7 separate regions of the Homo sapiens genome follow, and regions 1, 2, 3, 5, 6 and 7 are each linked to region 4. The links are contacts of gene promoters, found by promoter capture Hi-C in blood cells and fetal thymus (Javierre and others, 2016). All regions are on one chromosome and are shown on one strand. Each heading gives the region's core, a stretch centred on a gene start or on the middle of the fragment in contact. The rest is flanking DNA. Distances are from core to core; before and after follow the strand shown. Region 1 has its middle 97 kb from the start of MEGF10. Region 2 overlaps LOC105379199. Region 3 has its middle 39 kb from the start of MEGF10. Region 4 holds the start of MARCHF3 (membrane associated ring-CH-type finger 3). Region 5 overlaps LMNB1 (lamin B1). Region 6 overlaps LMNB1 (lamin B1). Region 7 overlaps MARCHF3 (membrane associated ring-CH-type finger 3).

Region 1 (2,700 bases), core at 2-2,501, 160 kb after region 4:
AGTAGCTGGCACTACAGATATGTGCCACTGCACCCACTATGGAATAGTAACTTTGAGCATGGGCAGTTTCCCAGAAGCATAGGCCTGTGTGGCTACTGCTTGGGTGTGTGTGGCTGACAGTGGAAGGAAGATGAAAGGAAAGAAGGTCTGTTTGTCCAGAGGGCAGAATCAGAGCTTTAGGTTTCTGGGAAGGGAGAAACAGCTGAGAGATGGAGGACAGTGTCCAGGGAAGAAGAAAAAGACAAACCCAATTTCATTGAGAGCAAATTTTGAGTAGCAGAATCTGAGAGAGTCCTAGGAAGCTTGCAGAGAAACTAGAAGCAAATCATAGCGTGGAGGGCAGAGCAATCATGTCTGTGGGATGAACAGAAGGATTTGAAAAATGCATGATTAGGTCAAAGACAGGAAGTTAACTACCAAAAATGTTATGAGCTATTCTCCAGAAAACAAGCTTTACTTGATACAGAAAGGGTAAACATTAGCTCCAAAGTAGCATTTCTTGTCGACAAAGACTGATATCATAAATCAACAAGGGAGGTTGTGAAATTCACAACCATTGAAGATAGCCCCAGTGTGGCCCTGCATGAAGTTGAGAAAACAAGAAATAACCACTTTTAAAGCCTTTTAGCCCTAGGATTCTTTGATTTATGGAAAAATTTAACATCTTTACTTTTTCTACTTCACCTATCATCTCATGTGCATGCGGCAAAGGTCTGAGTGTGTAGTTTACTGAGTAACAAGCCCAGAAACCCGCCGGAGCACACACACAGTGAGGTGACTCTGTCGCCCATAGAGCCACTAAAATGACATCAATAAATCATAAAATATGCCCAAGAGGGCATTATAAATCATTTAGAGTTGCTATTAATATTTTAGACATGTACATTTTTAGCAGTGTGTTAAATTTTAGTGTTTGCATTCCATTTTAATTTAGCACTTGATAATTGAAAAATGAGGCTGTTAAAAAATGATCTTAGATTTTTTTTTTTTTTGGTTAAACATTTAAGGATTGAATAGAATAAGGGAAATGGTCACTGCTAGATTCATTTTCTCTAAAATTGTTGCCTGGCACTTTGGATACTTATTCTCTTGGAGTAGGGGAGGGTGATAACCATTGGTCTTCCTTGGTAAGGAAGAAACATTTTGATCTCCCTTCCAGGCTGTGAAGCTCTTACTTTACGTGGCACTGTGGTGACTGGTAGAGTAAACAATTTATCCCAGTTTGTCCAGGGCTTTCCTGGTTTAAGCGTTCCTAAGAGACACCTCAGTGCAAAGCCAACTGAAATGGCTGGTTACCCTGGGTAGGCCCAAAGTCCAGAGTACTGGCTCCTGGAAAAATGGTAGATTTGATCACAGTAGTCTTTAGCACCTTCTTACTTTCTTTCTGTGACCTGCCTCTTGTATCTACTTTGGGAAAATCCCATAATTTAGTCTATGGGACTGACTTAAGTCATGTATTTGTCTCTCAACAATCACCGTGGCCAAGAAAGTGGACTACACTGATTGCCCAAGCCTGAGAAACATATCCAGACTTAGATGTGGGGATGGAATAAAGTCAGTCTCACCCAAATTATCTGCAAAGGGCAGGGAGGTGCCTCATCAAAGGAAAATTGAGAGGTCTATTACCAAAAGAAATAAAGGAATGAATTCCATGCAGGAAAAAGCTAGAAATGAACACTTGAAGTAGCTATTTAAATTGAGTTGGTTTGAGGTTGAAATGAGAAAATATAAAAGTATTTTATAAACTAAAATGTACTGTGCAATTTTTAAAAAGGCTCTTCTTTTATTAACTGATGTACTACTCTGCTCAGAGTTTAGAAATGAAAGATTTTGAAAGCCTGCACTCTGATTTGATTATTGGAACATTCACTATAAACCCATGCAAATAAAACCAGCATAGCCTTACTGGGAAAGCATAGCTGTGGCATATTCTTATTTTCCTTTTTGTTTTTCTTGTTGGCCTTATGGAGGAGAAAATCATGGAGGGAGTGAGGAAAAGAAAGAGAAGCTGGATAGCATTGCATATCAAGAAAAATTTATGGTCAACTAAACAAGCTTTCTCCGTTTCAAACATACTGTTTTATTTTGAAAAGTAAATATTGATTTTCTTAATATGAATGATAATTTAACCTGGGTATAATGATTATATAAGCATTAACTTTAAGCTATTTCTACTTAACCTAATTCCATTTTTTTCCTTTTTATTTCTTGGAGAGAATATTTCTTTTTCCTTCAATATTTCTGCTGTTCAGAAACCTATATACAGTAACTGATGTCAGCAAGATTGTGGAGTAGGAAGCCCTGGACCCGTCTTCTCCTACAAACACATCAATCCAGCAACAACTCGTAGACAAATTACCTGTGTGATGGAAATCCTCAGCTTTTGTTTGTCTGGTGAAGACAGCTTTTCCAGGGGTAAACAAGAGCTGAGGAAGTTTATCACCACCAGACATGCCTTACAAGAAATGCTAAAGGGAGTTCTTAAAGTTGAAATGAAAGGATGCCAAATAGAAGTATGATAGCATAAGAAAGTATGAAACTCATTGGTAGAGGTAAATATATGGACAAATACAAAATACTGCATTACTGTAATGGTGGTGGGAAAATCGCTTTAAAAAGCATAAAAGTTAAAGGCAAAAGTATAAAAAATAAATATAACCAAAAATATGTTAAAATACACAATATGAATAATATAAAATG
Region 2 (2,700 bases), core at 93-2,592, 250 kb after region 4:
AGCACTGCACTTAGTGAAACAACCTTCTGTTGTTTTCATGTCAGTGACATTCCAGAGTGTGAAGACTCCGAGGTAAATTAATGTACAAGAAATGTAAGGAAAGGCTCTGCCAGAGCACTTGCTCTTCACCTGTGTAAACACATCATGACCATTTAAGGCTGTAAACCGTAGGATATAGTATTAATATCCCAGAGGGTAGTTGGGTAAATAACAAGGCAGGCTAATATGAATTCCCTGGGTTTAAAGAAAAATTAAAGCCTTGATTAATTAATTCATTATGTGCAGCTTCTCCTCCCTTCCTTTACTTTTATAGCAGGAGTGAGATAATTATTATAATCTGAGAGATAAGCCTGCTTCAACTGAGAGCTGTGTTTGGGCAACTCTGTGGTTTGGGCAAATGGATTAAGTGACTTAATAAATTCATATTCAGAAGACTGTGATGTTAAAAAGAATTTCCTACTTAGGAAAGATAATTTCCAAGTGGAAAACAAAAATCCTCTACTGAGTTATAAAACTTTTGTTTAAAATATATTCATTATATTTGAGAATTGCTATGCATGAGGACATCTCTTCATGCTTGAGATACATCAGTACACAAAATAGGCAAAGATTAAGAAGTTTTTATTTTAGTGGGAGAAAGACATAGCAAACAATAAACATAATGAATAAGTAAATTATATAGGATAGTAGAAGGTGAAAAGTGGTATTAAAAAAGAAAAGGTAGAGCATGGTAAAGGGGATCAGGTGTGTTGGGGAAGGGGTGATGGGCTACAATACTGAATAAGAAGGCTCATTGAGAAGATGAAATTTGAGTAAGATGTGTAGGAGATCAGGGAGCAAGCCACACATTCCAGGCAGAGGGAACTGCAAGGGCTCTAAGGTAGAAGTCAGTCTGGTGTATTTGAATAAAAGCAAGGGGACCAAAGTATCTGAAGTATAGAGCAAGAGGAGAGCAAAGTATCTGAAGTATAGAGCAAGAGGAGAGCAGAAGATAAAACCAAGAAGCACTGAGAGTAGTGGATACCATGTGCGCTTCAGGACCAAGGCACTCATTTCCCCAGGTGCAAGAGTTTTTGGATGTAGATGGCTCCTAGCTCAGTTCCTCATCTGGAATTGCCTTCAACAGAAAAGAACTTCATTTGCAAGGTTATGCTCTCTCCTGGGAGCAGACCACATCCAAAGACTGTCATTGAGGGAGTATAGGAGTTGGGTGCTCTTGCCTCAATTCAGGCCAGCTCTGTGGGCCTATTGTAACTGTATCACAGTCCACTGGTCCTTCTGCCGAATTCTGCTTTCCTCACTTCCTTACAAGTGTTACTCCTGAGAGCAAACCCAAGAAACCTCCTGCTTACAAATCTCCATCTCAGAGTCCATTTTCTGGAGAACAAGACTTGAAACAGAGGCACTGTGAACACTTTGACTCTAAGATGGGAGAACATGGGGGCTAGAGTAAGAGAGAAACATGATCTAACTTATGTTTTAACAAGATAACTTTAGCTGTGGCACTGGGAGTGGTTGGTGGAGGGTTAAGGTCAGAAACAGGGAGAACAATAAAGAGACCACTGCATTAATTCAGGGGTAATGATGAAGGTCTGGAGTAGGTTGGTGAATGTATTTTGAAGGTAGAGCCTACAGAATTTGCTTATAGTTTGAATGGAGGGTGTGAGAGAAAGAGCAGCTCAAGGATGACACCAAGGTTTTTGATATAAGCAAATGAAAGGAAAAAGATGCCATTTGCTGAGATGGAGATGACAAGGATGAATTTGGGAAGGGCAGACTGTTGGGGGAAAATTAGGAGTTGGGTTTTGAACATATTAATTTTGAGATGCACATCTGTGAACCAAGTGGTGATGTCCAGGAGGCAGCTGGGCAGAGGTCAAGCCTGAAGATCTATATTTAGGAGTGGTCAGTAAAGGAATGGTATTTATAGTTCTGAGCCTGAATGAGATAGTTTATGGAGTTATTGTAGCTAGAAAAGAAAAGTGATCCAATGACTGAGACCTGGGCACTTCAAAATTTAGAGGTTGGAAAGATGTGAAGAAACCAACAAAGGTAACACAGAAGGAGCCACCAGAGAGAAAAAGGGAAAACTATAAAAAGTCTGGTATCCAGGATATCAAGTCAAGGAAGATATTCAATGAAGGGAAGAGAAAAATGTTTCTGACAATTGGTTTCAGCAAATTGGATCTCATTTGATTACCTTGAAAAAAAAAAGAGAGCAGTATTAAATTGAGGGTTGGGGCCAAAACCCTGATTAGAGGAGATTTAAGAGAGAATAGAAGGAAAATATATGATACTAAGTTTAGAAATTTAATTCAAGGAGTTTACAGTGAAGAGAATAGCTGTAGGAGGAGAACCAAACAGAGTTCTTTTTTTAAGTGGAAGAAATATTTGTGAATGCTGATGGGAATACTCTTGTTGAGAGGAGAGAATTAATAATGCAGGAAAGACAGGGAGAAATCCACGTCATTTGGGAGGCCCAAGGGAAAGAATTTAGTGCATAAGTGAGGAGGACAGCCTTAAATGAGAGTGTGGTCAATTCATCAGGAGGGAAGACAAAGCACACGACCAGACATGAAGGTGGATGACCAGCTGTAGTTGCAGAAGTTTGTGGAGATTCTTCTCTAATTGCTTCAGTTTTCTCAGTGAAATAGGGAAATGAGAAGCAAGGTCTTCAACTGACAGTGAAGATGAAAGATG
Region 3 (2,700 bases), core at 78-2,577, 220 kb after region 4:
CTAAAGTTAGAGACAAGATAAACTTGCTGCCAGAACTGTTGTCTTTTAACCTTGTAATAGAGGTCCTAACTCTAACCAATGCAAATATATACAGACCAAAAAAGAATAACATGACACATAAATATTATAAAGAAAAGACACAGATATAATTATTTGGAAACTAAAGATTGCCATGCAAATCCAAGGAATTATCTGAAAAAATTATTAGAATCAGTAAAATTCAGTACGACAGATACAAAATTAACATAGAAAAAAATCAATGCTTTCCTATATATTATCAATAATATACTAAAGAATGAAACAGAGAAAAAAACCTATTTACAATAATAATAAAAAACCCTAACAGTTGTAAGATTCATATGTTGAAAACTGTAAAATATAGAAAAAAATCCAATAATGCAGATATGCAGGACTTTTCTAAACAGAAGACAATTTTTGTTGAGATATCAGTCCTCCTCAAGTTAATTTAGAAATGTAATGCAATCCTAATCATTATTTATGAAACTTAACATGCTATTTTATTGGTCAAATGGTAGACAAAATAGCAAGTAACCTGGAAAACTCCTAGAAGAAAAAATGAGGGAAACTTGTCTTTCAAAAATTAAAACAAATTTGAAAATATAAAAGTATAGGGTTTGCGCAGGTATAGGCAGAGATATTGGTTAATAAGATTGGATGGAATCTAGGAGGAGCAGTATGCACATCAGGGTTTAGTATAGTAAAGAGCACTGGATCTCAAGCCAGGCCACACAGTAGCTGTGCGTTCTTGAAGTTACTTAAACTCTTTGTGCCTTGGTTTCCTTATGCGTAAAAGAGGGATCATTATACTACCTACGTCTTATGGTTGTTGTGAAGATTAAATACATTAATATACAGAAAGCACTTAGAAGAGTGCCTGAAATGTGGTCAGAACTACGTAAGTGCTTGCTGCTATTAATAATAAAAATGGCAAACAATTAAGTAGGAAAATGAATTACTTTACAAATTAGGGTGAAGCTTGGTTATCCATTTTCAAAGCAATACAGTTAGGGGTGATTGGTTATCCATTTTGAAAGAAATACATTTAGACATATGCCTTAAACCATACCCAAAAAGCCAAACATAAAAGTACTAGACATAGCTGCAGAAAAAATATAAGCTTGGGGTAAAGAAAGCCTATCGAAGTAAGATATAAAACATTAAAACCATAAAGGAAAATAATCAAATATTTAAATACATTAAAATTTAAAAGGAAACTTCTGCATGCAAAAGACGTAGTAACATAATAGACAACCTTCAGCCTGGATATATATTTGCATTATATTAGCAAAGGATTAATATCAGTAAGCATCAATAGGAAAATAACAATCCCTCCAATAGAAAAATGAATGATGGATATTAAAAAGCAATTTATAGAAAAAGAAATACAAATGTTCAATAAACCCTACAAAATATTCAACCTCATTGGTAATCAGATAAATGTAAATTAATGTGATACATTTTAATCAATTTTCACTAATCAGATTAACAAAATTATAGAAGCTTTATAATACCCAGGGTTAGTAAGGATATGATAGATTAACACAATGATACCTTATTGGTAGGAGGATAAGAAGACAAAATCTTTTTGGAGAAAATTTTTTTACTATCTATTAAGATTAAAACTGCCTTTTTTTTTTACTTAGTTATTCCACATTTATGATCTTATTCTGAAGAATATTTTGCATGCAGTGGGCCTAAAAGTCTATGTACAAGAATGATCATGGCAGGTTTGTTCATGATAGTGAAAAGAGGGAAACATCCAAATACTCATAGTAGAAGAGTAGTTAAAGAGTGTATGGTAAAGCCATAATGTTGAATACTATGCAGCTATTAAAAAGGATGAAGTACATATAGTTTCATATCATTTATAATATATATGTGAAAAGCTTTTCAAGGAATAAGTGAAAGAGTAGTTTCAGAATAGCTCTATTTATTCTTTACACATGTATTAATGCACATATACTTGCACGTTGTGTTTACATATAAATATGTGAGGGTGTAGGAAAAATAATGAAAATAAAAGTACTAAATTGTTAATTGTGGTTAACTCTGGGGATGGGTGGGATAGGGTGAGAGAGACAGACTGCATTTTTAGTCTTTTCAATTAGGTATAGTTTTAACTTTCTATGATGAAAGTCCACTTATACACATCTTGTATAATAAAGGACAATGAAACATAATAGAAGAATAGCTACTGAAGATCTCAAAGAAAGACCAGGAGGCAGGTTGTTTTCTTGACAAATGCTCTTAATATCTAATTCCTATGACTTTAGCACTGTTTCAGCGCAAAGACATGAATTTTTTTTTTGAGACAGAGTGATGAATTTTAATTCATTTAATATGGCTAGCATAATCATGAAGCCAAATTTGACAAAGATAACATAGGGATAACACAACACTACAATTCATACTCATAAACACGGATACAAACATTTAAAATAAAGTGCTGAAAAATCCAGTTAATAACGAAGTACTGTTTCTTCTAAAAATGCAAAAGTGATTTAACACTTTGACAAATATTAATGCTTTTCATAGGTTAAAAGAGACAAAGCATGTGATTGTCTAGAGGTGACTTTTCCACCTATTGATCTATTTGTTTAAAAAAAATTTATTGAGCCAGGGATTATTCTAAATTCTGGTATAGAGGCAAATACAAATATGATAAAGTATGAAGGAGTG
Region 4 (2,700 bases), core at 164-2,663:
TGACCCAAGGGAAGTTCAAGGCTGAATTTCCCCTTCATATATTTACCTCATTCACCTTTTAATTTTATATATACACACACTCACACATATACACGTATGTATGTGTGTATATGCGCATCTACATCTTCATATACACATACAGAACTATATATCTCAACATTTTCATGTATTTTCAAAGGTCTAAACATCCCCAAATTCTGGACCTGTTTCTGTCTAGTATTTTCAAAAGCTCTTATTCATGTCAAATAAGAATTGTAAGAAAATATCGTATTGAATTCTGTTTATTCCGCACATAATATAAACTACATGCATGTAGTTGGTCTCAGAAAAACAAGCTGCTTTTACCCCCTTACCATTAAGGGGGGAAAACAATCTAACCCAGACCGAGTCACAAACGGAGTGTCAGGTTTAACCTTGAGTTCTCTGCTGTCAATTCCTGACTCAACTTCATCACTTAAACACGCAGGTGCTCAAACAAACACCAACCGACCAGGCTGGCAATCCCTTTCGCAGCCTCTAGGATTCTCCAAGGCACTGGGCACCAGAACCGACAGCAGCTCCCGCCTGGTCCTAACGAAGTCCTTCGGACACCCCTTGCGGGTGGATGTGGAGGTCCGAGCACCTCAGGAGGGTCATGGATTCAAGTGCTAATAGAAAGCAATTACTTTAGAAAGTTCAAAGCCCAGCAGTGCTCTCAATTCCTCTCAGTAGCTGCAGAGCACTGAAGCCCCCGCTACAGAACCCGGCTGGTACTCCAGTTCTCTGGCGCTGAGACCCACCTTGAGCCCGATGAGCGCTCGCTCAGCCTTGAGATCCAGACGCGGACGCCGGGTCTTACCGTACCGCACAGCGCGGGTAATTTTTCAGGAACCGCGGTCCGCACGCCGCGGGCGCGGAGGCCGCCCCAGCGCTCCATGTCGTTGCCGCAGAGGGGCAGGGGACGCGTCCCGGCCCCACCTACCCATGTCAATTACGCCAAGTTGGTGCGGACTGGAACCGCGTCCCGGGCGGAGTTGGGATGCTTTGACAAGAAGAAGTTCGGGAGTGGGGATATTGGCACGGAGTAAATCCCGCCCAGCCCTGACCTCCCCACAGCGGTCACGCTCGGACGAACGGACCGCCGAGCGCCAGGACGCGTCCCGTCCCCTCTCGCCGCCGCCGAACCGCGCCGAGAGGAGCCGCTAGCCCGGCGCGCGGCCACTCACCGTCCTCGCCGAGTCCCGATAGCAAACCGACGTCCCTGCTGCGGTTCTAAGTGCCAAGTTGCCCCCAGTCGGTGGCTGCTCACGGCCCAGTGGACCAGGGCACATTGGTTCCGGCGGGCACCTCAGGGGGAGTGCGGCAAGCCTGGCGGCCGCCGCGGCCACACAGTCGCCCACAGCGCGCTGACAATTCACGGACCTGCTCAACGAGTGAGGCGGAAAGCAGGGCTAAGCCGACCAGGCTCTGGAGGGGAGGCGGGGCTGCCGCTAGGGGCGGAGCCAGCCCCGGGGCGTCATCAGCCCATGACTGGCGGAGCCGACAGCCAGTCGTGGTGGCGCTGGGACCGCCCCGTAACCGCCGTCCAGTCGCCTGCGGCCGAGGGCAGGCTGGCGGGACGCGCCGGCGGCGGGGAAGTTGGTTATTGCGAAGTGCCGTGGCTGCCGGCGGGCGCTGCGGGACTCTCTGCAATGGGACCCGAGCAGCTCTAGAGGGAGGCGGCGGCCCCAGAAGGCCGTTGGCTGAGAGAGACCAGGAGCCCTCGGAGCCGCCGCGCGCATAGCGCTGTGGAGCAAGAAGCCAACCGCAGCGCGGGTCGACACGCCAGTATCTGGCACCGGCAGGAGGCGCGGAACTTAGCTGCCCCATCGGAACCCCGCCCGGAGGAAGCTGAGGGCCGAGAAAGGATGAATTCCGGACCGGGTCGCCCAGCCACAAGTGGAAACCTGGGCTCTCTGGAAAACGTTCTGATCTCGATCTGGCTATCTCTGAAACAAAACTCCAGCCCCGCAAACCTCCCAAAGTTCAGTACACGTCCCCGTCCTCACCCCTGCCCTCCGGGCCACCTGCAGCGGGGGACTTACCGGCGCCTCGGGTCTCCTCCTCCCGACCCAGCGCGTCGCGGACACAGCTGGCGGCCAACAGGAGGCTTGGGCGCTCGACGGCGCCGGAACCTGTGAGACCGTCGCTCTGGGCGGGCTGCCGTGCGGGGTGGCATCCTCTGCGGTGACTTCTGCTGTCTTTTGGGTCCGCCAGGATTCCAAAATCCCAGGCGGGTCGCTAGAATTATCCATCTTCGTGGACAGGAAGCCCCAGAACGAACCACATCTGTCCCACTCTGCTTCCGCCCTCCTTCCCCTTCGCAAGCTCCTGGCTGGGATGGAGACATCGGACGAGCTCGGAGATCCCGACCTCTCAGGGGTCACTCGCAGCCGAACAGCCTGGAATATGGCCTTGTGGGCCCTTCCCGCCCAACCCCCTAGGACCCCACTGCTCATCTTGTCAACCAGTTTCTGAGCCCCTACCCTGGCTGCAGCACGTGCTCGCACAGGCGCGCTGAGCTACTAACATAGAATCAAAAGCAGGGAGTTGGGTGTTCTTGCTTTCCCGCTGAAACCTAGAATGTAAACAAGCCCTAGACCGTCAGCTGTGGGTGGGTAGGGGCCTCTCCCTGCCTAGAACTGCTCTTGCCATGGGTAGGCACCTAACCCGTATTAGTAA
Region 5 (2,700 bases), core at 29-2,528, 200 kb before region 4:
GGTTGTTGAGGAAGAACTTTTCCACCAGCAGGTATTACTTTATTTATTTAATATATTTATTTCAAATTTTATTCACAGAATTACATGAAGACCAAGAGTGTGGTTGGGTTTTTCCCCTATCAGTTGATGAACCAGCGCAGTTATCTACCAAGTGGGGTTTGTACTCCCCAAAGGGATATTCAAGGTGATACTTTAGGGTACTGGAAGAATATGTTGGCACTTTTATTTTTATTTTTTCTCATTGTACCAAGTTTCAGTTTTGTCCTTTGTTTTCTAATGTGCATTATGTGTTACAGTAAAACATGTCTATGGATTGGATGTTTACTCCAAACTTGTTTACTCTGTAGGGTCCTATGATTAAAAGGTTTAGATCACTAATTTAGAGCAAGAATCTGCATATAAACTTTAAAAAAACAAAGTAATATTCAACTTCAGTGTGAAACAAAATTCTTGCTGTATTAAGTTCCTAATCATTATCTAATTGAAGATAGATTTTGGCTGATGGTTGGGCTTTTGAGAGCCCTTGAAATAAAGAAACTCCAAATTTGGTTTTAATTATAATTAAATTGGAATTATTAATAACTAATGAGCCTTCAGTTTATATTCTCAAGCTGTTTGAGTCCGATCATTAATCAAAGTGTCTACCCTTATCCTGATAAGACTTTGTTTCCATGGCTCCAGATTTTTAGTCTTAAGTCTGCTTTGCTTCATTAGCCCTAGTCCTGGTCTAAATAAACACTGTCTCATATATTTAACCCCCAGGGTTGAGAACCACTTGAGGTGGGTTGCATGAAGTAGCATGAATTTTTTACCTGGATGCCTTCTCATACATTTTGGAGGAATATTTTAAAACACATATGTTACACTTAACTTACAAGAAACAAGCACAAGTTCCATTTTCTGTGCTTCAATGGGAACCATCGTAATTACTAGAAGTAAAATAATTATGTAAGAGATAACTCAAGGCACCAGACAAGAGGGTCAGCATGAGTTATATAGCATGTCAGATGCTAGAGGAGGTACTCCAGGCCAGCAGAGTAGTTGAGAAGAACTCTGTGAGGTGATGCTTGTCCACTAATTTGAAGGATGGGTGATTATTTGGTTATTGGAGAGAAGGCAGATGATGGTGCTCTGAGGATGTTGGAATTCACCATTGCTTCACTAACAGACCACCCCAAAGCTTAGTGGCTTAAAACAGTGATTTCTTACTTCCCATAATTCTGTGGTTTGACTGGGCTCAGCTGGGCAGTGTTTCTGTTCCACATGCTGCAGACTGAACTCAATCGAGCAGGCTGTGTTCAGCTCAGAGGTTGGCCTCGGCTGGAATATCTTTTAGGTCTCTTTCTGTGTGGATTTCTATGATTTAAGAGTTTAGTCAAAGCTTTATAGCATGGCAATTGTCTAACAGAGTAAGTGGAGGGTACAGGTTTCTTTCTTTTTTCTTTTTTTTTTTTGAGATAGAGTCTTGCTGTGTCGCCAGGCTGGAGCGCAGTGGCGCAATCTCAGCTCACCGCAACCTCCACCTCCCAGGTTCAAGAGATACCCCTGCCTCAGTCTCCCAAGTAGCTGGGATTACAGGCATGCGCCACCACGCCTGGCTAATTTTTTATATTGTAGTAGAGATGGAGTTTCACCATGTTGGCCACGACAATCTCAATCTCAAGAGAGTACCAGGTTTCTTAAAGGGCCCTTTGTAACATTCTCTTAGTCAAAGTCATGAGGCCAGTCCAGATTCAAAGTGGGGGTAAATAGTCTCCACCTGTTGGTGGGAGGAATGGCAAAGAATTCATGGTGATCTTTAACTCACTACAGAGGATGTGTAAAGAATGTGGCCGGGCACGGTGGCTTACGCCTGTAATCCCAGCAGTTTGGGAGGCAGGCAGATCACAAGGTCAGGAGATCGAGACCATCCTGGCTAACACGGTGAAACCCCGTCTCTACTAAAAATACAAAAAATTAGCCGGGCGTGGTGGCGGGAGCCTGTAGTCCCAGCTACTCGGGAGGCTGAGGCAGGAGAATGGCGTGAACCCGGGAGGCGGAGCTTGCAGTGAGCTGAGATGGCGCCACTGCACTCCAGCTTGGGTGACAGAGTGAGACTCTGCCTCATAAAAAAAGACTTAATGCACCAACTATATCCGCTCATCCAGTTATTTTGTAGGGTTCATGTGAGAGTTAAATGAAGTTGAAAGATTGGAATTAAACTGACATAGTCTGGAATGCTTAGGGATGTAGCTTCTGTACAATTTGGAACAAAGGAGAAGTTAAGACTGCATTTTAAAATATCACTGGCCAAGCTGAATCAGAGGGACTAACTCTAGAGAGGAGATTCCAGAGGCAGTGAGGGAATATATAATGGAAATTTATTAAGGCTTAGTGACTAAACTTGAGGGTGAGAGAAGAAAAAAAATAAAGATGTATGAGGTTTTTAGCTTTTGTGATCACAGAAACTAATGATACCAAGGTTCATAAGAGGGAAGATGGAAGGGCAGAACAGGCGTTTGAACTTCATATTTGAGGATGAATCCAATCGCCTTTTGAATTGATTAGAAATATTTTGGTGACCTTCAAAAAACCAGTTTTAGTTCAATCAGTGGTGAGTCACAAGTCATATTGTGAGGTTATATGAAATTAATGAGTGATAAAGAAATGGGTAGAGGAGCCATGTTGACTTCACCTTGGAGGACAAATCCACTGCAGATG
Region 6 (2,700 bases), core at 124-2,623, 250 kb before region 4:
TTTGGATATTTAGTTATACAACTCGAAAATAATACTAAGCTTGTATTTCCCTTTCTTGGATTTACTAAGCCTTGGTTTCATCTTTTAAAATGAGCAGTCAGTTAACTCACACTATTATTTCTATGTTCCTCCAAATTTTTTGCCACTGAATTCCTTCAAATCTTAGATATCGTTGCTTGTAAGACTTGCCATTATTATGTGTACCACTAAGAAAATAAAAACATCAGGACCAACTGTGTAGGATCCATCCTGTTGGACCCATCATGATGGGTTTCATAGATATTAAAATGTCAAACAGGGCCGGGCGTGGTGGCTCACGCCTGTAATCCCAGCGCTTTGGGAGGCGAGGTGAGCGGATCACTTGAGGTCAGGAGTTCGAGACCAGCCTGACCAATATGGTGAAACCCCGTCTCTACTAAAAATACAAAAATTGGCCGGACGCGGGGGCTCACGCCTGTAATCCCAGCACTTTGGGAGGCCGAGGCGGGCGGATCACGAGGTCAGGAGATCGAGGCCATCCTGGCTAACAAGGTGAAACCCCGTCTCTACTAAAAATACAAAAAATTATCCAGACGTGGTGGCATGCATCTGTAGTCTCAGCTACTTGGGAGGCTGAGGCAGGAGAATCGCTTGAACCCAGGAGGCGGATATTGCAGTGAGCTGAGATTGCGCCATTGCACCCCAGCCTGGCGACAGAGTGAGACCCCATCTCAAAAAAGAAAAAAAATCCGGGCGTGGTGGCGGGCGTCTGTAATCCCAGCTACTGGGGAGGCTGAGGCAGGAGAATCGCTTGATATCCAGGAGGCAGAGGCTGCAGTGAGCCAGATGGTCCACTGCACTCCAGCCTGGGTGACAGAGTGAGACTCCGTCTAAAAAAAAAAATTAACACAGATCAAATATCTGTTGCGTACCAGTCACCGTTCTATGTTAGAGGATATGAAGATTTTTTTAAAAAAATGAATTACTGTTCTTTGTTGCTGAGAGTGTAGTGGGGGAGCTATATCCCAGCAAGTAAAGAAAGATTGTCTTTTGTCTGATGTGAAGCATTTTGATGCTGGCGCTTTTGTAATCTTTCCAGGAGTTAGCCACAGGAGGTTTTTCACACAGTAACAAGGCTGCCACCTGGCTGACAGTAGTTGTAAATGTATCGATTCTAAAATGCATGCTGGTTTCAGCGGGGTTAAAAAATGAGAATAATGTGTATTAGAATCAATGAAATAATGCATGTGATACAATTTAGGTAATAGCAGATGCTAAGGGAATAAAAATAAAGCGGAGTGAAGGGTTAGTGTGATTAAGGAAGGCCTGTCTGAGGAGTTGACAGTACCTATTCTCTGAGGGTTAGTAGTGTTCTGGGATTATATTTTTCTTAAGTCTGTGCTACTGTATGTATATTCCTATTGCCAGGATTAGATGACTCTTCTTTTCCCCCCAACATACCATCATTTGCTCAAAACATGCCACATTTTAGTTTGCTCCTTATTTGAATTAGGACTTTTTTTATATGGATTTATTCCTCAATAGCTTTTCATTTTTCTTGTTAAGAAAAATTTGCCCTCAGTGTGTTTGCAGACTTTTTGAAGATATTTAATCATAATATCTATCACATGAATCTGCTTTCTTCCCTAGAGTTCTCTTTGCTTAAGGTAGGCTGTGTACTGATGTCCTGTAACTTATTAAAGACAGCTTCCTGGCCAGGCACGGTGGCTCACACCTGTAAAGCACTTTGAGAGGCCTAGGCAGGTGGATCACCTGAAGTCAGGAGTTCAAGACTAGCCTGTCCAACATGGCGAGACCCCGTCTCTACTAAAAATACACAAATTAGCCGCGTGTGGTAGTGGACGCCTGCAATCCCAGTTACTGTGGAGGCTGAGGCAGGAGGCATTGCTTGAACCGGGGAGGCGGAGGTTGCAGTGAGCTGAGATCACACCACCGCACTCCATCCTGGGTGTATTTTCCTTTTCCTTGGTTTCTTCATATTTTGTTGAAGAACATCCTTAAGTAATTTATTCAGAAAGGATGGCAGGAGGTAAACTTTCTGAGTCCTGTATGTCTGAAAATAGCTTTGGGCTAGGTATAGAATACTAGGTTAACATTTTTCCAGAACTTGGAAAGTATTATTTTGCCCTATTGTCTTCTGGCATCTAGGGTTGTTAATGTCTTTCTTTTTTTTTTGAGACGGAGCTTGGCTCACTGCAACCTCCGCCTCCCAGGTTCAAGCGATGCTCTTGACCCAGCCTCCCAAGTAGCTGGGATTACAGGTGTGCACCACCACACCCGGCTAATTTTGTATTTTTAGTAGAGACGGGGTTTCACCGTGTTGGCCAGGCTGGTCTCCAACTCCTGACCTCAGGTGATCCACCCACCTCGGCCTCCCAAGGTGCTGGGATTATAGGCGTGAGCCACCATGCCTGGCCTATATTTAATTTTTTATTTGGAACTAGAGTGTTTGTAATTAAGTATAATCATCATTTAGGTAGATTTAGATTAAGAAAACAGCTTTGAGAGAATTATAGATTCCAGGTTACTTAGTTTCTTTTTGGTTCCTCAGCAAACAAGATACCTTAGAGGCAGAGCATGGAAATGCTTGGTCTAAAGAGAATTTGGCAACAGTTTCCATGCAGGTGGTGTCTGAATCCATAGAAAACAGACCTCATATGTAAGGTACAGTTACTTTGATTCAGTCCAAGACTGATTATA
Region 7 (2,700 bases), core at 196-2,695, 140 kb before region 4:
GGCTGAAGCATAAAGTCATATTCAAGGACACCCTGGAGATTTGTGATGCTCCCTGGAGGACTTAGGCCAATAAGCCAATTAACGGGCTATAATGCTCCATAAATACTATGCTTATGCCTGGGACATTGTAATTTGGCTCTGACATTATTTAAACAAATGCTACACACACTCACACCAATGGTTTATTTTTCCAAGGATTAGATCAGTGGCACAACAGGATTAGATGGCAAATCATTTTATATATTCACTTGTAACTTCAGACATACACAAAATAAAAATAATCTCTAATTATTTTAGATCATTACAGCATAGGAGTGATCACAGCCAAATGGAGATTGCTTATCTGAAATATGAGAAGATACTTCAGAATTATGTGGCATATCTGATCAATGTAAAGCAAGAAACATGAGATAACCAAGACAGAATGGAGAGCAAGGAAACAGAAGTTTTTAGAATAAATTGATAAAATGCATAGTGCCAAAAGTAGATATTATTTATTTTGGGAACAATAAATTCATACTGTGTGGTTTTTCTTTTTTTGAGATGGAGTCTCGCTCTGTCACCCAGGCTGGAGTGCAGTGGCACAATCTTGGCTCACTGCAACCTCCACCTCCCAGGTTCAAGCTATTCTCGTGCCTCAGCCTCCTGAGTATCTGAGATTACACACATGCACCACCACGCCCGGGTAATTTTTGTACTTTTAGTAGAGATGGGGTTTTGCCATGTTGGCCAGGCTGTTCTTGAACTCCTGACTTCAAGTGATCCACCCGCCTTGGCCTCCCAAAGTGCTGGGATTACAGGTGTGAGCCACTGTGGCTGGCCCTGTATGGTCTTTTTAAACACAAATAGCAGCTCTCATTCCCCTGATCTTGCTTCATTTTAATTCTTACTGGCCCCCAGACTGGAAGGTTACTGGTGTCTAATGACCACTCCGTTGGACTGCTGTTGGAGTCTGGGTTTCTGAACATTTGAATAATTACTTCCAGCAGAAGTACATGATCATGGGATACACTGTACCAGGACAGTGTACCAAATAAGAGCCCCCACTGGAGCACCAGACAAAAGATGAGAATACGATAAATAACATGAATATGAACAATAAATTCCTATTTTGATAATAGGGATGTTTGAAGGAATAGAGAGGAAAAAATAACATTCAAAACCAGGTTTTCAAAATGGTACTACACTTACATATCTGTGTCCCTCAGGTGTAGTGAGAATGTGAGTAAGAAAACTATCCAAGCAGAGTATGGTGGAGGGATTTCAAGGAAATACAATGCACACGGAAAACAGACGACAGAGCAGACAATGTCACCACATGCTCCCAAAGTAAGCAAGAATGGGAACACTTTGAAAAAGGGGAAATTTCTTCCAAATAGAAGGACCATGAAAACAGAGGAACTCTTGGATTTGCAGTCCCTATAGTCCAATGTTTTGCTGCCTAAAAGGGCCCCACATATTTACGAGGGCCTGGCTGACTTGGCTGACATTAGATACATCCTAGCACCTAATGGATTAGGAATCATTCAAGGCTCCACTTGAGGCAGCGGCTTAAGTTCATGCACCACGATGGAGGTGGTATCTCCTTATTTTTGTTCTAAACTCTGTCTTTGAATTTCAAAGGGATCCCACCACCATTTAAGTAATTTGGAATGTGTGAGGCACTCCCTGTTCACATTGTCTAAGCTGTTCATGATTTTCAAGATTTCAGACATGTCCCTCAGTAGCATCCTCACATCTAGATTAGTAGCATCCTCACATCTAGATTAGTAGCATCCTCATATCTCTCACTTTCTGTGCAGGCATCTGTGTTAACCACTCCCCTGGACTTTTTGGATATCTTTCACTGGGTATGGGGCCCAGAATATCAGATTACCAGGTGAAGACACCTCGCTGTGTTATCTGAGCAGAGGGCAATGTTCTCTATTTTGCTGGTCTTACTTCCTTTGATTATGTTTAATGTTTGTAGATCACTTTGCTATAAAACTCACAGACTTGTCTTCAGAAAAGACATACTTTTTTTTTTTTTGAGGTAATGGTATGTTTTCTTTTTTATTATTATACTTTAAGTTTTAGGGTACATGTGCACATTGTGCAGGTTAGTTACATATGTATACATGTGCCATGCTGGTGCACTGCACCCACTAACTCGTCATCTAGCATTAGGTATATCTCCCAATGCTATCCCTCCCCCCTCCCCCCACCCCACAACAGTCCCCAGACTGTGATATTCCCCTTCCTGTGTCCATGTGATCTCATTGTTCAATCCCCACCTATGAGTGAGAATATGCAGTGTTTGGTTTTTTGTTCTTGCGATAGTTTACTGAGAATGAAGTTTTCCAGTTTCATCCATGTCCCTACAAAGGGCATGAACTCATCATTTTTTATGGCTGCATAGTATTCCATGGTGTATATGTGCCACATTTTCTTAATCCAGTCTATCATTGTTGGACATTTGGGTGGGTTCCAAGTCTTTGCTATTGTGAATAATGCCGCAATAAACATACATGTGCATGTGTCTTTATAGCAGCATGATTTATAGTCCTTTGGGTATATACCCAGTAATGGGATGGCTGGGTCAAATGGTATTTCTAGTTCTAGATCTCTGAGGAATCGCCACACTGACTTCCACAATGGTTGAACTAGTTTACAGTCCCACCAACAGTGTAAAAGTGTTCCTATTTCTCCACATCCTCTCCA

The links. Contacts are between HindIII fragments. The CHiCAGO score rates a contact against its expected background, and 5 or more counts as called.
Region 1: a fragment that was not itself captured here is called in contact with the fragment with the promoter of MARCHF3 in region 4 in 2 of 17 cell types (M2 macrophages and total B cells); the score reaches 6.0 in M2 macrophages.
Region 2: a fragment that was not itself captured here is called in contact with the fragment with the promoter of MARCHF3 in region 4 in 5 of 17 cell types (naive B cells, M2 macrophages, M0 macrophages and 2 more); the score reaches 8.2 in naive B cells.
Region 3: a fragment that was not itself captured here is called in contact with the fragment with the promoter of MARCHF3 in region 4 in 7 of 17 cell types (naive B cells, M2 macrophages, megakaryocytes and 4 more); the score reaches 11.0 in naive B cells.
Region 5: a fragment that was not itself captured here is called in contact with the fragment with the promoter of MARCHF3 in region 4 in 17 of 17 cell types (total B cells, naive B cells, erythroblasts and 14 more); the score reaches 31.5 in total B cells.
Region 6: a fragment that was not itself captured here is called in contact with the fragment with the promoter of MARCHF3 in region 4 in 14 of 17 cell types (neutrophils, total B cells, naive B cells and 11 more); the score reaches 19.3 in neutrophils.
Region 7: a contact is called between a fragment that was not itself captured here and the fragment with the promoter of MARCHF3 in region 4, in 2 of 17 cell types (erythroblasts and total B cells). The highest score is 8.5, in erythroblasts.

What each region holds. Positions count from the first base shown.
Region 1 is chr5:127,192,620-127,195,319 of GRCh38, forward strand. No RefSeq gene overlaps it. Among named protein-coding and RNA genes, the nearest start is that of MEGF10, 97 kb to the right of the region's middle. The HindIII fragment of the contact is 1,604 bases long and covers 450-2,053 here.
Region 2 is chr5:127,276,124-127,278,823 of GRCh38, forward strand. All of the region lies in intron 2 of LOC105379199, which reads right to left. It also overlaps a transcript of MEGF10 not described here. Among named protein-coding and RNA genes, the nearest start is that of MEGF10, 13 kb to the right of the region's middle. The HindIII fragment of the contact is 4,674 bases long and covers 1-2,700 here.
Region 3 is chr5:127,250,586-127,253,285 of GRCh38, forward strand. It overlaps a transcript of MEGF10 not described here. Among named protein-coding and RNA genes, the nearest start is that of MEGF10, 39 kb to the right of the region's middle. The HindIII fragment of the contact is 383 bases long and covers 1,137-1,519 here.
Region 4 is chr5:127,029,145-127,031,844 of GRCh38, forward strand. MARCHF3 (membrane associated ring-CH-type finger 3) reads right to left here and starts at 1,414. Exons shown (of 5, transcript NM_178450.5): 1 at 1,206-1,414. LOC105379163 (a long non-coding RNA gene) reads left to right here and starts at 2,199. Exons shown (of 2, transcript XR_007058920.1): 1 at 2,199-2,700. RefSeq lists a silencer at 1,376-1,755 and an enhancer at 1,752-2,296. The HindIII fragment of the contact is 7,560 bases long and covers 1-2,700 here.
Region 5 is chr5:126,832,771-126,835,470 of GRCh38, forward strand. LMNB1 (lamin B1) reads left to right here. Exons shown (of 11, transcript NM_005573.4): 10 at 1-31. Among named protein-coding and RNA genes, the nearest start is that of LMNB1, 57 kb to the left of the region's middle. The HindIII fragment of the contact is 201 bases long and covers 1,179-1,379 here.
Region 6 is chr5:126,779,319-126,782,018 of GRCh38, forward strand. All of the region lies in intron 1 of LMNB1 (lamin B1), which reads left to right. Among named protein-coding and RNA genes, the nearest start is that of LMNB1, 3.5 kb to the left of the region's middle. RefSeq lists enhancers at 788-857, 868-957. The HindIII fragment of the contact is 2,673 bases long and covers 38-2,700 here.
Region 7 is chr5:126,888,243-126,890,942 of GRCh38, forward strand. All of the region lies in intron 3 of MARCHF3 (membrane associated ring-CH-type finger 3), which reads right to left. Among named protein-coding and RNA genes, the nearest start is that of LMNB1, 110 kb to the left of the region's middle. The HindIII fragment of the contact is 5,941 bases long and covers 1-2,700 here.